5 separate regions of the Homo sapiens genome follow, and all the other regions are linked to region 3. Evidence: promoter capture Hi-C in 16 types of primary human blood cells and fetal thymus (Javierre and others, 2016). All regions are on one chromosome and are shown on one strand. The core of a region is centred on a gene start or on the middle of the fragment in contact, and the rest is flanking DNA. Distances in the headings are between cores, read along the strand shown.

The links. The method cuts DNA at HindIII sites, captures the fragments that hold promoters and counts their contacts. A CHiCAGO score of 5 or more calls a contact.
Region 1: a fragment that was not itself captured here is called in contact with the fragment with the promoter of RHOG in region 3 in 2 of 17 cell types (non-activated CD4 T cells and naive CD4 T cells); the score reaches 5.9 in non-activated CD4 T cells.
Region 2: a contact is called between a fragment that was not itself captured here and the fragment with the promoter of RHOG in region 3, in 1 of 17 cell types (M0 macrophages). The highest score is 7.4, in M0 macrophages.
Region 4: the fragment with the promoter of TAF10 here is called in contact with the fragment with the promoter of RHOG in region 3 in 1 of 17 cell types (activated CD4 T cells); the score reaches 5.5 in activated CD4 T cells.
Region 5: a fragment that was not itself captured here is called in contact with the fragment with the promoter of RHOG in region 3 in 1 of 17 cell types (M0 macrophages); the score reaches 8.0 in M0 macrophages.

Annotation. Positions count from the first base shown.
Region 1 is chr11:6,402,896-6,405,615 of GRCh38, reverse strand. It overlaps APBB1 (amyloid beta precursor protein binding family B member 1), which reads left to right. Exons shown (of 15, transcript NM_001164.5): 3 at 1,794-1,969; 4 at 2,072-2,128; 5 at 2,212-2,297; 6 at 2,408-2,471. Among named protein-coding and RNA genes, the nearest start is that of SMPD1, 14 kb to the right of the region's middle. RefSeq lists a silencer at 3-297. The HindIII fragment of the contact is 2,162 bases long and covers 279-2,440 here.
Region 2 is chr11:6,230,408-6,233,107 of GRCh38, reverse strand. The region is part of intron 1 of FHIP1B (FHF complex subunit HOOK interacting protein 1B); the gene reads left to right. Among named protein-coding and RNA genes, the nearest start is that of FHIP1B, 2.9 kb to the left of the region's middle. The HindIII fragment of the contact is 1,070 bases long and covers 896-1,965 here.
Region 3 is chr11:3,839,571-3,842,322 of GRCh38, reverse strand. It overlaps RHOG (ras homolog family member G), which reads left to right and starts at 1,364. Exons shown (of 2, transcript NM_001665.4): 1 at 1,364-1,429. RefSeq lists silencers at 424-473, 514-783, 1,134-1,183, 1,234-1,623. The HindIII fragment of the contact is 3,094 bases long and covers 428-2,752 here.
Region 4 is chr11:6,610,641-6,613,469 of GRCh38, reverse strand. TAF10 (TATA-box binding protein associated factor 10) reads left to right here and starts at 1,254. Exons shown (of 5, transcript NM_006284.4): 1 at 1,254-1,512; 2 at 1,652-1,806; 3 at 2,018-2,082; 4 at 2,167-2,281; 5 at 2,459-2,829. The coding sequence starts at 1,281. The coding sequence ends at 2,548. It overlaps TPP1 (tripeptidyl peptidase 1), which reads left to right. Exons shown (of 13, transcript NM_000391.4): 13 at 1-702. It overlaps ILK (integrin linked kinase), which reads right to left. Exons shown (of 13, transcript NM_004517.4): 13 at 2,600-2,829. RefSeq lists enhancers at 778-827, 878-1,007, 1,463-2,050, 2,051-2,639 and silencers at 1,298-1,397, 1,408-1,607. The HindIII fragment of the contact is 6,165 bases long and covers 363-2,829 here.
Region 5 is chr11:6,650,296-6,653,126 of GRCh38, reverse strand. All of the region lies in intron 1 of DCHS1 (dachsous cadherin-related 1), which reads left to right. Among named protein-coding and RNA genes, the nearest start is that of DCHS1, 4.1 kb to the left of the region's middle. The HindIII fragment of the contact is 2,855 bases long and covers 82-2,831 here.

The DNA.
Region 1 (2,720 bases), core at 110-2,609, 2.6 Mb before region 3:
TCAGGTGTGCAGCCACCTTGGCGTAACCACGCCCACTCCCAGCCCTGCTGTGTCTGGTTGCCCAGCAGCAGGGTCTTGGGACTGCCTGTCCCTTAGTACTGCCTCTTGGACCAGTCAGGATTCCTGGTTTCCCTGGTAACGGGAAGCACGTCAGCAGTCTGGGCGCTCCCAGCCGGTCCTGGTGCTGCGGTTGCCGAGGAGACGCTGCAGCCTAGCTGGGCCCTGGCAGGTGAGGGGTGGGGGGTGGTGCTGGGAAGCCCCAAGCCCAGCCTCAAGCTTGCTGGGGCTCAGGACCTCAAAGCCCACCCTTGGGTTCAAACTGCTGTGCAGGTCCTGGACAGGGGCGGGATCCCTGAAGGCCTTGAAACCACACCCTATTTATGCTGACAGCTATAGGCTCTGCAGGGCCCCAGGCAGCTGGGGTATTCCTTAGGGGCTGAGTCTCCTGGTATCCCTAAGACTGGGCTTGGCTTAGGCACTGAGGTAACCACTGGAGGGTGGGATGGAGATTCAGGATTGGGGGAGGGGAGCCAGGGCGAGGAAGAAGAGGTGTGAGCAGAAGGGGCTGGGGTCTCATGAACCTCCCTTTCTCCTCCCTTCCCCACCCCCCAAGGAGATTCCCTAGCATGGTGGTCCTGGCCCCTCCCTAGCAAGCTCCAAGCGGGGGAGGATCTTGCCTGGCAGACGCTCTGCCCTGGTGAGAAGGGGGCGGGATGAGCTTTTCTCTGCAGCCCAGCACCAGGCTGTGAGCCCAGCTGGCTGGGCTGGAGGGGCTGTGAGGAGGGAGGGTGGAGGCAGGAGGGGCCGGGAATGAGCGCCATGTTCTCCCAGGACTTTTTCCTGGCCATTATCCTGCAGGACAGCAGCGCAGGTGAGGGGCAGCATGAGGTTGGGCCTCATGTGGGGTGGGGCTGACAGGGAGAGAAGAGTTAGAGGACGCATGAGCGGGTTACAGGGTTGGAGTGGTGTGGCTCTGCCGGCAGACAAGGGTGTATGACACAGATGCGAGGTATGTGTGTATGTGCATGACATGTTTGCTTGCATCTGTGTGCAGCAAGGGTCAGGAAGTGAGCGTCTGTGGTGTCTGCACACATTTGGCAGGGTTTGACGTGTGCCGTGTGTCTGAGTGTGGGTCCGCCTGTGTGTGTGGTACCCACACGTGTGTTGGGGCCATTGTGGTGTGGTATCTGCACACCTGTGTGGCAGGGGCTCGTATGTTTAGCTGCATGCACACACACCTCTGTGGTGTCTGCATAAGTGTATGGCTAAAGTTTGTGTGTGTGTGCCCCTGCACATACATGTGCACCTGTGTGTGATACCTGCCATCTGTGCTGGCATTTTCTGTGTTGCATACCCTGGTGTTTGTGGCTGCACAGGTGTGTGGTAGGGCTTGTATGTGTTGTGTGTCTGTGTATACATGTACGTGTGCAGGAGCTAGAAAGTGTTCACCTTCGTGTTAACTGAGATAATAGATATGTATGAAAGGAGGTTAATTGGGGTCACCCAACATTCATTGCTCCCTTCCTTCTTCCCTCCCTGCCTTCCTCCTTTCCACAGTGTGGCCACATTAGCCACCAACAGGGCCCAGGAGGAGACCTGAGCCATGTCCCCTACTGGTGGCCCCACATGTGGTGACTCCAGACTATAGGCTCTAGGCAGAAGCAGGAACTGTGTTGTGGTATAGCTCTTCCACCACCCCTTCTCAACCATGGGGTCTCAGAGGGGACCGGGCATAGGCACCAGCTGTCTGCTCTTTGGGTAGGCTGACCCTCACCAAGCCTCCCACCTGGCAGATTCCTTCTGGAACCCCAACGCCTTCGAGACGGATTCCGACCTGCCGGCTGGATGGATGAGGGTCCAGGACACCTCAGGGACCTATTACTGGCACATCCCAACAGGGACCACCCAGTGGGAACCCCCCGGCCGGGCCTCCCCCTCACAGGGGAGCAGCCCCCAAGAGGAGTCCCAGGTGAGGCTCACAGGCCTGTTGATTTTGGGCCAGGGGTGGAGGGAGTGTGTGCTGCTGGAGTAGGATAGGACACTCACTCACTACTCCCATCCCTCCTCCTAGCTCACCTGGACAGGTTTTGCTCATGGAGAAGGCTTTGAGGATGGAGAATTTTGGAAGGTGGGTAAGGGGACCTGCTTTACCACGGGATAGCTGGAGGAGGGGCATCATTTTGATACTGATTCCTCAATCCCCTTCCCAAGGATGAACCCAGTGATGAGGCCCCAATGGAGCTGGGACTGAAGGAACCTGAGGAGGGGACGTTGACCTTCCCAGCTCAGAGCCTCAGGTGAGCTGCCAGATGCAGTGAGCTGGCAGTGGGATGGATCTGTCTGGAAGGGGCCTTGGGACAGCTCCATTTATGGGAGCCCTGTGCCAAGTATTACCATCTGCCTTCAGCCCAGAGCCGTTGCCCCAAGAGGAGGAGAAGCTTCCCCCACGGAATACCAACCCAGGGATCAAGGTTTGTTCAAGACTGACACCCATTCTGAGTCTGGGGCCCTCTTATTTGTCAGACAGCCCCTAATGTTGTGCTCTGAGGGGTCTCAGCGCAGTTCCCCAGGTCCTGAGTTAGGAGTTCTTCCAGTCTCAGCACAGAGCCCTGTGTCTGAGCTGGAGGCACTTCAGTTTTTAAATCAACCAGCCCAACAGCCAGGTTGGGGGCCCTTGTAGTCTTAGTTCAGGTGCTTTTTTGTACTAGCTGGGGTCTCAT
Region 2 (2,700 bases), core at 181-2,680, 2.4 Mb before region 3:
AGAACACTTGGCAACTTGCCCAGTCAGTCAGAACTTACAGTTCAGAGTTTAGAGTAGTGGTTCCTAAACACTGGACCAAGGACCCTGTACATGATAAAATTATCATCTATCCAAGATGGAGGGAGAGAAAGACAGTATGGTTATTCATGAAGATAAATTTATTCTCAGAGATTATCATTCCTATTCTTTTGGTGTTGCAGTGCTCTTTCGTTGATGCAGTAATGGTAACAGTAGATGGTGGGTTAAAAAAAAAAAGATCTAATTTACCCAAATAAAAAGTGTCAACCCAATTTTTAATTTTAAAAATTATTTCTATAGCTTTATGAACTTCAGAAATTTAAAGTGATGATGGTGTGGCTGTTGTATTAGGTTGAGGAAGCATACATTTATACAATGATTCTGTATAACTTAACATCTGAACAGCATTCATGCTTTACATAGGGATTTCAAATTTTATTATACTGATTTATATAGATACCTTGTAGACAAAGACAGGAACTTTCATTTTATAGATGAGAAATTAAATTCAGTAGCCAGAGATCATACAGGGATACAGTGGCAAGGCTGAACCCAGAATTTTGTCTCAGAGTGAGAGAGACTTTGGGAAAGAAGATTTATAATAGACACTGAAGGTGATGTGGGAGGATTTTTTAATGATTTGTAATTGTTCTATTTCCAAAAGACAGAAAAGGGACTGTGAGAGTGACATAGGGATGAAGGTTATGTTTAATGCTGTCGCAGTGACATTGGAACAGGTATATATAATACCTGGATCACATCTTGATAGTGGATCATATCATGATAGTGATAGGATGAATCAAATCAAATATTAGATGGTTCTTAGGGACTGTCTAAATCCTTGTTATAATGGAGAAAGCACTGGATTTGGTAAGCTTATTGTTTGCTATCCCAAACTCTGTTGAAATAGTAGTGCATTAAGTATAATGGATTTTGATTTGTATCATATAGTGAGTGGTAGTTCTGAGAGGATGAAACATACATGAGGATGATGATGTAGAGATAGAAACATGTTTAGGGTACTGTGTTAATCATTTATTCCATATCTGCTCTGTGCCAGGCACTCTACTAAGTGCTAGGAGAATGAATTCGTTTATTCATTCAACAAATACTTCTTCAACATATAGTCTGTGCTTGTGATGCTCACATTTTATGGGATAACAACATGAATAAAACATGGTCATCCGAGCTCTCAAGGGATTTTCAGTCTAGTAGGGAGAGAGAGACACATGAAAACATAATTTCAATTTAGAGAGATAATGTGAAATGTGAAAATATATCATAATAGGCTGGGCGTAGTGGCTCACGCCTAGCATTTTGGGAGGCTGAGGCAGGCAGATCGCTTGACTTCAGGAGTTTGAGACCAACCTGGGCAACATTTTGAAACCCTGCCTCTACCAAAACAACAACAACAACGACAATAAAACCACCACCAAAAAAACCCACCAAAAATTAGCCAGGTGTGGTTGCACATACTTGTGGTCCTGGCTACTCCGGAGGCTGAGGTGGGAGGATTGCTTGAGCCTGGGAGGCAGAGGTTGCAGTGAGATGAGGTCACACCACTGCACTTCAGCCTGGGTGACAGAGGCCCCACCTCAAGAAAAAAAAAAAAAAAAAAAAGAAAATATATCATAATGAGTTGATTACTCCTTTGTATCTAGTGTCATCTTTCCCTGTATTCCAAGTATACATGTTTATTGATCTGTGTATCTCCACAAGTATCTCAAAATTAACATGTCCAAAACAGAATTCATAGTCTTTGCCCCAAAAGCCCGACTTTGCCCTCATATCCCCTATCTCACTCCAGGCAAGGACTACATTGTCATCTTTCATACTTTCTGCTCTTTTACTCCCTGCATTCAATCATTTGCTAGAATCTTAATACATTTCGCTCTGTGTTATCTCTCTTCTCTATATCTCCATTGCTACATCTTCACTGTCAAAGCTTTAGTTTAGCTCCCCCTCACCTCATATGATTTTTTTAAAACAATTTTTTGTCTTAAAACTTGCTATTTTCTGGTCCATCCCTAGAATGATTTTTCTGAAAATACACATCTGATCTCCGAACTCCTTGGCTTAAAAACTTTTGGCTCTTTGTGTCCTGTAGGACAACATCCAAATTTCTTAATATGGCATCATTTAGCTTCAGCTTACCTCTCCAGTCTCGTGTGCCACTCCCTAGTCTGTATTCTAGTTTGAATAAATTGTTCACAGTTCCCTAAAACCATGCTGCTTTTTTGAGCCTTGAAATCTTTGTAATAGCTGCTTCCTCTACTAGGAATGCCTTTTCTTCTCTGCCCAGTGAACTTTCCTTATCCTTTAGGATCTAGTTCAGTTTCACCTCCTTTTTGACATCTCTGTCAAGGTAGAGATAACTGTGTGTGACATGAGGATTCATTGCTGTAAAGAGGAGTCACTGTAGAATAGAGGTTCACTTTTGTGAATTGGATGGACCCCGCTGGAGTCAGATGAGGAGATCCCTGCAAGAAGCAGAAGTGATATTGCGGGGAGGGAAGGGAATGAGTTGGGACCATACCCTGACATCCCATTTGTCTGAGGGATGGAAAAGCAGGGAAGAAATGTGTAAGCTGAGCTCTAGTATAAATTCCTAGTAGGTGGTGTTTTTGGTTGGTTGGTTTTTCCCTTTGTATTTCTATGAGATTTTAATCAGGTCATTCAACT
Region 3 (2,752 bases), core at 115-2,614:
AATTAGCCGGGTGTGGTGACATGCACCTGTAACCCCAGCTACTCGAGAGACTGAGGCAGGATAACTGCATGAACCTGGGAGGCAGAGATTGCAGTGAGCCGAGATCGTGCCACTGCACCCCAGCCTGGGTGACATCGTGAGACTGTCAAAAAATATGTGTGTGTTTGTGTTTATAGAGACAAGGTTTCACCATCTCTGTAATTACAGGCAGACGCCACCGCGCCAGACTCTTAGGGTATGATATTTTTAAAAGATATTTGTTTAGTGTTTGAGATACGCATTGACAACAGGTCTTTTACACCCATTCTCATGTTATCTTCAAAACTACGGGGTGAAATATAATTATTCTATTTTACCAAAGACAGATTTGAGGCTCAGAAAGGTTAAGCTATTTATTCCTGGAATCAATCCGTTTATTTGAAAAGCTTCTGGAAGACAGGGATCCTGTCTTAAACGCTGTGTTTCTTCACAGCACCTAGCACTTAGCTCTCTCCACGTGGTAGGCGCTCAGAAACTTTGTGCTGAACGAAGGATATGGATTCTCAAGTCAAAGCTCCGAGCGCAAAGCCAGGGAGCGAAGCACCAGAGGGCGCCCATGAGCCCGCCCACCCGCGGGTCGCCGGGGCCCAAGCTGGACCTCAGGCCTGGGTGCGGCTCTTCAGCCCCAAGCAGCTGCGCGCCCCAGCAGAACAGGGGGCGAGGGGGCGAGGGAAGCCCCAAGTCCTCCGTCCGCCCCGCCCCCTCCCCAGAGCCAGGCCTCGCAGGGCTGCACGGTGCTGAATGACGACTCGACATCCTGTTTTTGGGGCCCGCGGCTCCGCCTGCGCCTCTGCTGATCTTGTCTTTCCCTTGGGTGCTGACGCCAGCTCCTCTTCCCCCCGAGTCTCCCCACCCTCCCCAGGGGTCTGGGGCCTTCCCACTGCTGAATCACCACCACCTCGCACTCCCCCGGGGCTCAGGGCAGGGGCGGGGACTGCCCCAGCCTCGGCCACCACTCTATCCCTGGGGTTGACTGAAGGGACCAGGCCCAGGGGCGCCTTTCTCAGCATCTTCCCGCGGAGGCTGGTGGGGGCGGGATGGGGGGAAGAGGACGAACGCCTAGCGCCCAGGGTAGGGCCTCCAGGGGTAGGGTGGCCAGGAGGAGGCGGAGAGACTTGACCTTGGGAGGCCTGACTTACTGACCGCAGGGGCAGCGGACTGGGAGGGGAACGTGGCAAGCCCGGGACTGGGCCGGGGGCGAGGCTGGGGGCGGGCCGGGGCTGGAGAGGGGGAGATCGGCCCTCGGACTTCCTGGTCGGGCCCCGCCCCGGCCCGCCCCGCCTCGCCGGCCCGCCCCCCCCACTTCCTCCGGCCTCCCGCTCTCACTTCCTTCTCGAGCCCGGAGCCGCTGCCGCCGCCCCCAGCTCCCCCGCCTCGGGGAGGGCACCAGGTGAGGCCCGGCCGGGGCTGGCGGGTAGGGGTCCGGGGGAGGAGAGCCCGGCCGGCCCAGGACTCGGCGCGGGCGCCGGCTCATGAGTTTGCTGGCGGAGGCCGCGGGCGGGAGCTTCTCGGTTCAGTCCAAGTAGGGCGGGCGCGGCCGGCCGGGCGGGGCGGGAACGGGGCCACTGCGAGCCGGCGGAGGCTCGGCGAGGGTGGCTTCCCGGCGGCTGTACCGCCTCTAGGGAGCCGAGAGGGACCCCTGAGGTCGGAGGGTCCCGGGCTCCAAGATAAGTGTCTCTGAAGTGGAAGAGCTCAGAGCTGGGAGATCGGACGCAGGTGGGGTGTCCTCAGAAGTTGGTGGGGGGGGTGTTGAGAAGTGCGTGAGGGGAGAGGGCTTCTGGGCTGGAAAAGGCGCTCCCTCTGCTCTGGCAGTTGTGACACTTGGGGTGAGAGGGGCGGTGTCTGGGGCCTCCGAAAGCTCTCTCCCTGTCAGATGGATGCTAATACAGACCCACACTCGGTCTGCAGCCCCAAGGCCCTCTGCACTCAGGAGGACCCGGGTTGGGTGGGGGAGCCCCGCCGACCCCAGTCGTTGTCTGTATGTCTGTTTTCCTGAGTCCCGACCTTACCTGGAGCCAAGCAGTAGGTATTTAGTGAGCAGACGCTGTTCCTAGCTGACCAGAGCCTGGCCTTGCTCTTTTGGGAGTAACTTGGTCTTGCCCTGTAACTGGAAGTGGAAGGACTCTCATTCAGAGGTACTGATAGTCCCTGACAAGTTTTTGTTGTGTCTTTTGGGGACAATTGAGAACCATCTCCTAGTGTTCCTCTTCATTCTTAGTCCCTGAATTATACACATGCTCCTGTCGTCTCCCTCCACACCTTCTTTAGTTTCTACCCACAAATCCGCCATCACTCTCTTCTCATCCCTTCCAGTCTCTTTTCCTCCAAACATACGGTCATACCTAGGCCTTGACCTGTCTTCACCTACCCTGCCCCATGTTCGTCTTGGTCCTCTGCAACCTGCCCCATCCCTTCCCTTCCCAGCTCTGGCACCCACACACATGCACCTCCTGGTTTCTTCCATCACCCCTCATTCCTTTTGAACCCTCAGCCTGTCACCCTCTCTGTATCCTTCCCTCCCACCCACTTATCTCCAGCTTTGGAATCAGTTGTTGAAGACTTAGTGAGTTCTAGAGTCTTTTCAAACCTCCCTAGCTTGGAGAGGCAGTCTGCAGCCTCCCAGTGATAGAGACGGATTAAAGAGCTGGAAAGCCTGTGTGTGTGTGTGTGTGTGTGTGTGTTTGCGTGTGTGTTCGCACGCGCGTGTCTGTGT
Region 4 (2,829 bases), core at 5-2,504, 2.8 Mb before region 3:
CCTTCAAGGATTACTGGATAGAATTCAGGCTTTCCCCTCCAGCCCCCAATCATAGCTCACAAACCTTCCTTGCTATTTGTTCTTAAGTAAAAAATCATTTTTCCTCCTCCCTCCCCAAACCCCAAGGAACTCTCACTCTTGCTCAAGCTGTTCCGTCCCCTTACCACCCCTGATACAACTGCCAGGTTAATTTCCAGAATTCTTGCAAGACTCAGTTCAGAAGTCACCTTCTTTCGTGAATGTTTTGATTCCCTGAGGCTACTTTATTTTGGTATGGCTGAAAAATCCTAGATTTTCTAAACAAAACCTGTTTGAATCTTGGTTCTGATATGGACTAGGAGAGAGACTGGGTCAAGTAAGCTTATCTCCCTGAGGCTGTTTCCTCGTCTGTTAAGTGTGAATATCAATACCTGCCTTTCATAATCACCAGGGAATAAAGTGGAATAATGTTGATAACAGTGCTTGGCACCTGGAAGTAGGTGGCAGATGTTAACGCCCTTCCTCCCTTGCACTGCGCCCCCTGTGCCTACCTCTAGCATTGTAACGACCACGTAGTATTGAAATGGCCAGTTTACTTGTCTGCCTTCCTTTCCAAGACCGTTGGTGCCTAGAGGACTAGAATCGTGTCCTATTTAACTTTGTGTTCCCAGGTCCTAGCTCAGGAGTTGGCAAATAAGAATTAAATGTCTGCTACACCGAAAACCTCACGCCTCTCATTCGTTGTGATTTTTGCATATGTTGTTGACTCAGGCTGAAACTCCTCCTCCTCCTACAGCAGCACTGTGTGCCGCCCCACTGCTGCCCCCACCTCTCGGGGCAGCTGGCGGAGAAGAGAGGGGGCTTTCCAAATCCACTATGAATCCTTAAAAGGCTGAATAAGGGAACTTGAAACGATGCAGACAGGCAGGCAACCCGTAGTCGAGGGACATAGGGCCATAAACGTCGAAGCCAGGTCTTGAGCGTCAGACAGAATGAGGTGTCCCAGAGCGGCGGAGGAGAGCCAGACGCACGCTGGTTCCGGTCTGGACGGAATCGCCGCGGAGCACGGCAGAGGCTAGGGCGGAATGGCTACGGCAGCGCAGTTCGCCAAGGCTCGGTCTCCGCCCTGCAGCCTATTTCCTCTAACCCGCAGATCCACTATGGGAGGAGGCGGGGAGCGGGCTGGAGAGCACTAACAGAGACAGGCGGGGCGAGTCGTGGGCGCGTGACGTCACCCCGGGGTGTGCGCGGCGCGAGCGGAAGCGGAAGCGGCTCTGTTCGCCGCCTCTCCCACCGGCCCGATGAGCTGCAGCGGCTCCGGCGCGGACCCCGAGGCGGCGCCGGCCTCCGCCGCCTCGGCCCCGGGCCCCGCGCCCCCGGTCTCGGCTCCCGCCGCGCTGCCCTCCAGCACCGCCGCGGAGAACAAGGCCAGCCCCGCGGGGACAGCGGGGGGACCTGGGGCTGGAGCAGCTGCTGGGGGCACGGGACCCTTGGCGGCGCGGGCCGGGGAGCCAGCTGAGCGGCGTGGGGCGGGTGAGGGCCGGGACGGGTGAGGGCGAGGGAAGCGTCTTGGGCTGGGTCCAGCGGCGGGTGAGGGCAGAGGGTATAGACAGACCTAGCTGGGGCCCTGCGCCTCCCACCTCTGTGTCTCATTTTGCTGGTTCTCCTCCAGCTCCGGTGTCGGCGGGTGGCGCGGCGCCCCCGGAGGGGGCCATATCTAACGGGGTTTACGTACTGCCGAGCGCGGCCAACGGAGACGTGAAGCCCGTGGTGTCCAGCACGCCTTTGGTGGACTTCTTGATGCAGCTGGAAGATTACACGCCTACGGTGGGCTTCCGCCCGAACAAGGCCACCTAGCCTGCTGTCAAAACTTTCAGCCACATCGTGCTTTTCAGCGTTCTCTTCCATTTGCTCCCCTAGTCGCTCTTCTGTGTTTGCCCTCTGCTCACCCAAACTGTGAGCTTCCTGATAATCAGGCCTATCCATTTCCCTCACCCTCCTCCCGCTCTGCTGACAGTTCTCTTAATTGATTTCTCAGATCCCAGATGCAGTGACTGGTTACTACCTGAACCGTGCTGGCTTTGAGGCCTCAGACCCACGCATGTGAGTAAACCCAGGGCAGGTTAGTTTTGGGTGCTTGTGCAGTATGTTGTCCATCTCCTTCTCATCTAAGTTTTTTCTCTCTAGAATTCGGCTCATCTCCTTAGCTGCCCAGAAATTCATCTCAGATATTGCCAATGATGCCCTACAGCACTGCAAAATGAAGGGCACGGCCTCCGGCAGCTCCCGGAGCAAGAGCAAGGTGTGAGGGGAGGCTTAATGAATCAGTAATTACCTTCCACAACAGTGGAGGCTTATCCTGCCACCCCTTTGGGGAAACTGAATCGTAGGGGAGGTGTAAGACTTACTCAGGGTCACCCATCTGGGATTGAAGTCCGGGATTCCTGTGCTCAGTTGGTGCTCTTCCCTCTTCCCTCAGGACCGCAAGTACACTCTAACCATGGAGGACTTGACCCCTGCCCTCAGCGAGTATGGCATCAATGTGAAGAAGCCGCACTACTTCACCTGAGCCACCCAACCTAAATGTACTTATCTGTCCCCATGTCCCCACACCAGCCTGTTTTCATAATAAACTTTATTGTGACAGGCGGGGCTGATCCCTCCCATGTTGGGAGACACCATGTGGCAAGTGACAAAGCTCTGAGCCCGCCCCTCTTGGGGCCACAGTGGTAGGGATGGGGGAAGGGGATGGACCCCATGGCTGGGGTAGTACCATGACTGGAGGCGGGGGAGGCAACCAGAGGCCTGCTGCTTTGGGGAGGTGCATTCCCCCAACCATGTCCCGACACC
Region 5 (2,831 bases), core at 260-2,759, 2.8 Mb before region 3:
GACCATGCAGGGTCTAGGAGGCCACAGAAAGAAATTCATTTAACCCAAGAATAATGGAGAGTCACCAAATCATTGGAAGCTTGGAGCGATATGATCAGATTCATTTTAGAAATACCACTCTGACAGCCATGTGGAGACTGGAGAAAGAGCCTGAGAAGAAGGACAGTTGGCTGTTGCAGAAACTCTGGAGGGTATAACACTGGCCTGAACTGGAGTAGTGGCCGGAGAGAAGGAGAAAGTGGATGGTTTCAAGAGCTCTTTAGGCAGTGGGATCAGCAGGGCTCAGTGACAAAGCAGACATGGTGGGGTGAAGGAAAGGAAGGAATTAAGAGTGGACAACCTGGTCTTCTGGCTCACTGAGGAAATTGAGGCCATCTGTTTTGAATTCCCTCAGATTTCTGCCTCCTCCCTCAAATTTTATCTGCATCCTCTTCAATCTTTTCTCCTTCCTTCCTATAAGAACGAAGTGCTGTCTCTTCTACTTAAGGCCAATCCTCTACCTGTGTTACGGATCCCATCCCCTTCCTCTTCCACAGGGACCTCACTCAACTGATTATTCCATGTGTTTCCCACGTCTCCAGTTCCTTCCTTTCTCCCATTCCTCCTGGGAGGACATAAAGATCCTCCAGCCTCTCCTATCTTTCTTTAACCCTGTAATACCCCGTTAACTAAGAGGCTTCCTCACTTTTCTTCACTGTCACATTTTGTGAAAGAGTCTTCTGCATATAGCTGTTCCTACTTCCTCACTTCCCATTTGTGCCTGCCCCTCAAATGTAACTGCTTTCCCTAGGAGAAAGTAACATCTCTTCTGCTCAATCTGGAGGATCTTTTCAAAAGTCCTTAACTGCCTGACCTCTCGGGAGGAGCTGACATTATTGACCATTCTTTTCTCCTTGAGTTGTTTTTGTTGTTTGGCTTCTGAGCCATGATTTTATTCTATCAACATTTAACAGGCAAATAAGTGGAAAGTTACATTATGGTATGTATCTCTTCTGGAGCTCCTCCTAGCTGTTCTCTCAGTCTGCTTTGAGGGATCCTTTGTATGCCCCCTGAATGTCACTGTTCCTTAAAGTTCTGGCTTGGACCTTCTTATTGTCTCACTGTATACACACCTCTAGGTAATCAATTTCATTCATTTTTCAAGGCTTTTATTAACATCTATAGGCTGATGACTCACAGACATCTCTCTTCTAGGCCACATTTCTGCATACCTGCTGCATGCCTGCTCTTTACTGTATAGCTCACCGACCCCTTATCATGTGCAAACCTGATCTCATCATTCCTTCCTTCCCCAAATGACCATCCCCACTCAGGTTGCAAGCTGGAATCCCAGAAATTAACTGTCACCATTCCCTTCTCCACGTATCCCATAATCCAGAAATCCCTTGGAACGTGTTGGTTCTATCTTCTCTCCAGCAATCTCTGATATCCCATCCCCTTTTCTCCATCACCTCTGCTGTTGCCCTCATCTACCATCTTTTCACATGAATTTTTGCAAGAGCCTCCTAACTTTTCTTTCTACACTTCTCTTCCTTCTTTCAATCCATTCTTTTCATTGGAGTAACAGACACCTTCCTAAAGTACAAATCCAACTATGTCACTCCCTGCTCAGCATTATTCAAATGCCTTCCATTTTCCTTGAACAAAATCTTTTCTTTTTAACAAAGGTTATGAGATCATAGTCTGACCTCCCCAAGCCTCCCAGTCTCATCACCTGCCCCATTTCCCCAGCCCCCTCACGTTTTGAGTTTCAGCCATACTGAATTTCCTGTAGTTCACCAAAGACACTACCTTTTTCCATGCTTCTGACCCTTTGCACATACTGCTCTGCCTGCCTGAAAGGCCCTTCACTCCCTTCCCTCCTGGCTTATCCCTTCCCTTCCTCATATCTGGTCTCAAACCCTGCCTTTAATGACTCCACCGGGCAGGCTTGAACTCTGTGTTTCGTTGTTGTCATTGCCTCTTCCCTGTCTTATCTCCCCAAACCGCGCTGGGACCTCCTTGATGGCAAGAGTGCGTATTACTCATCTTTGTGACTCAGGGTCCCACACAGGTGCTTGGCTGTGAACAAAATGAATGAATACATGGGTACCTCACAGCACATCCCTCACCCTCGTTCACTCTTCAGAAGACTGACACCTAGTCTCAGCTGCCCACATAATTAAGAAATTTTCACACTACTCACTTACTCTGCTGGAGACACTTCCACTCCCCTCACCTACAATTTATTCTTCCTTCGTCTCCCTCGATCCTCTTCCTCTCCCTTATCTGTACTTTATCTTTCATTCAGTTAGCAAATATTTAAGAAGTACCAGAAGTTTGCAGACCCAAATCCATTGAGCCAGGTGTCTACTGGGGCTCTGGGAAGGGATGGAAGAAGCAGAAGCTGTGCCAGACTACAAGGCATTACAGTGCCTCACCAGATTCTTTCCCCAGAGGTGTCCTAGGCTGCTCCTTCCTTTAATGCCCTCTTAGCCCACGGACTCACCCACCCTGAGCCCTCCAACTCCTGGCATCCTGGCCTCAGTCCTCCCCATATTAGGTTCCTTGATTCTTGTACTCTTTTCTTCTTCCCTCTCCTGCCTGTCAGTGGTAACAGAGGCAAGACTGGACTCTCTCTTCTCTGATGCCCTGGTATCTGCTAGGAAAAGCCCCTCCCAGGGGTTCATGCTATTGTCTCCTAGCTTCTTCCCAGCTTCCTGCTGACCCCCCTTCCTTCAGCTCCTGTATCCATCTTCCCTAGGTAACCTTCTGACACCAGGCCACTTTCAACCACTGCCACTTGGGAGGGGCTTCCATTTCCCTGTGTCTCCTGGTGAAAGGGCACCTCC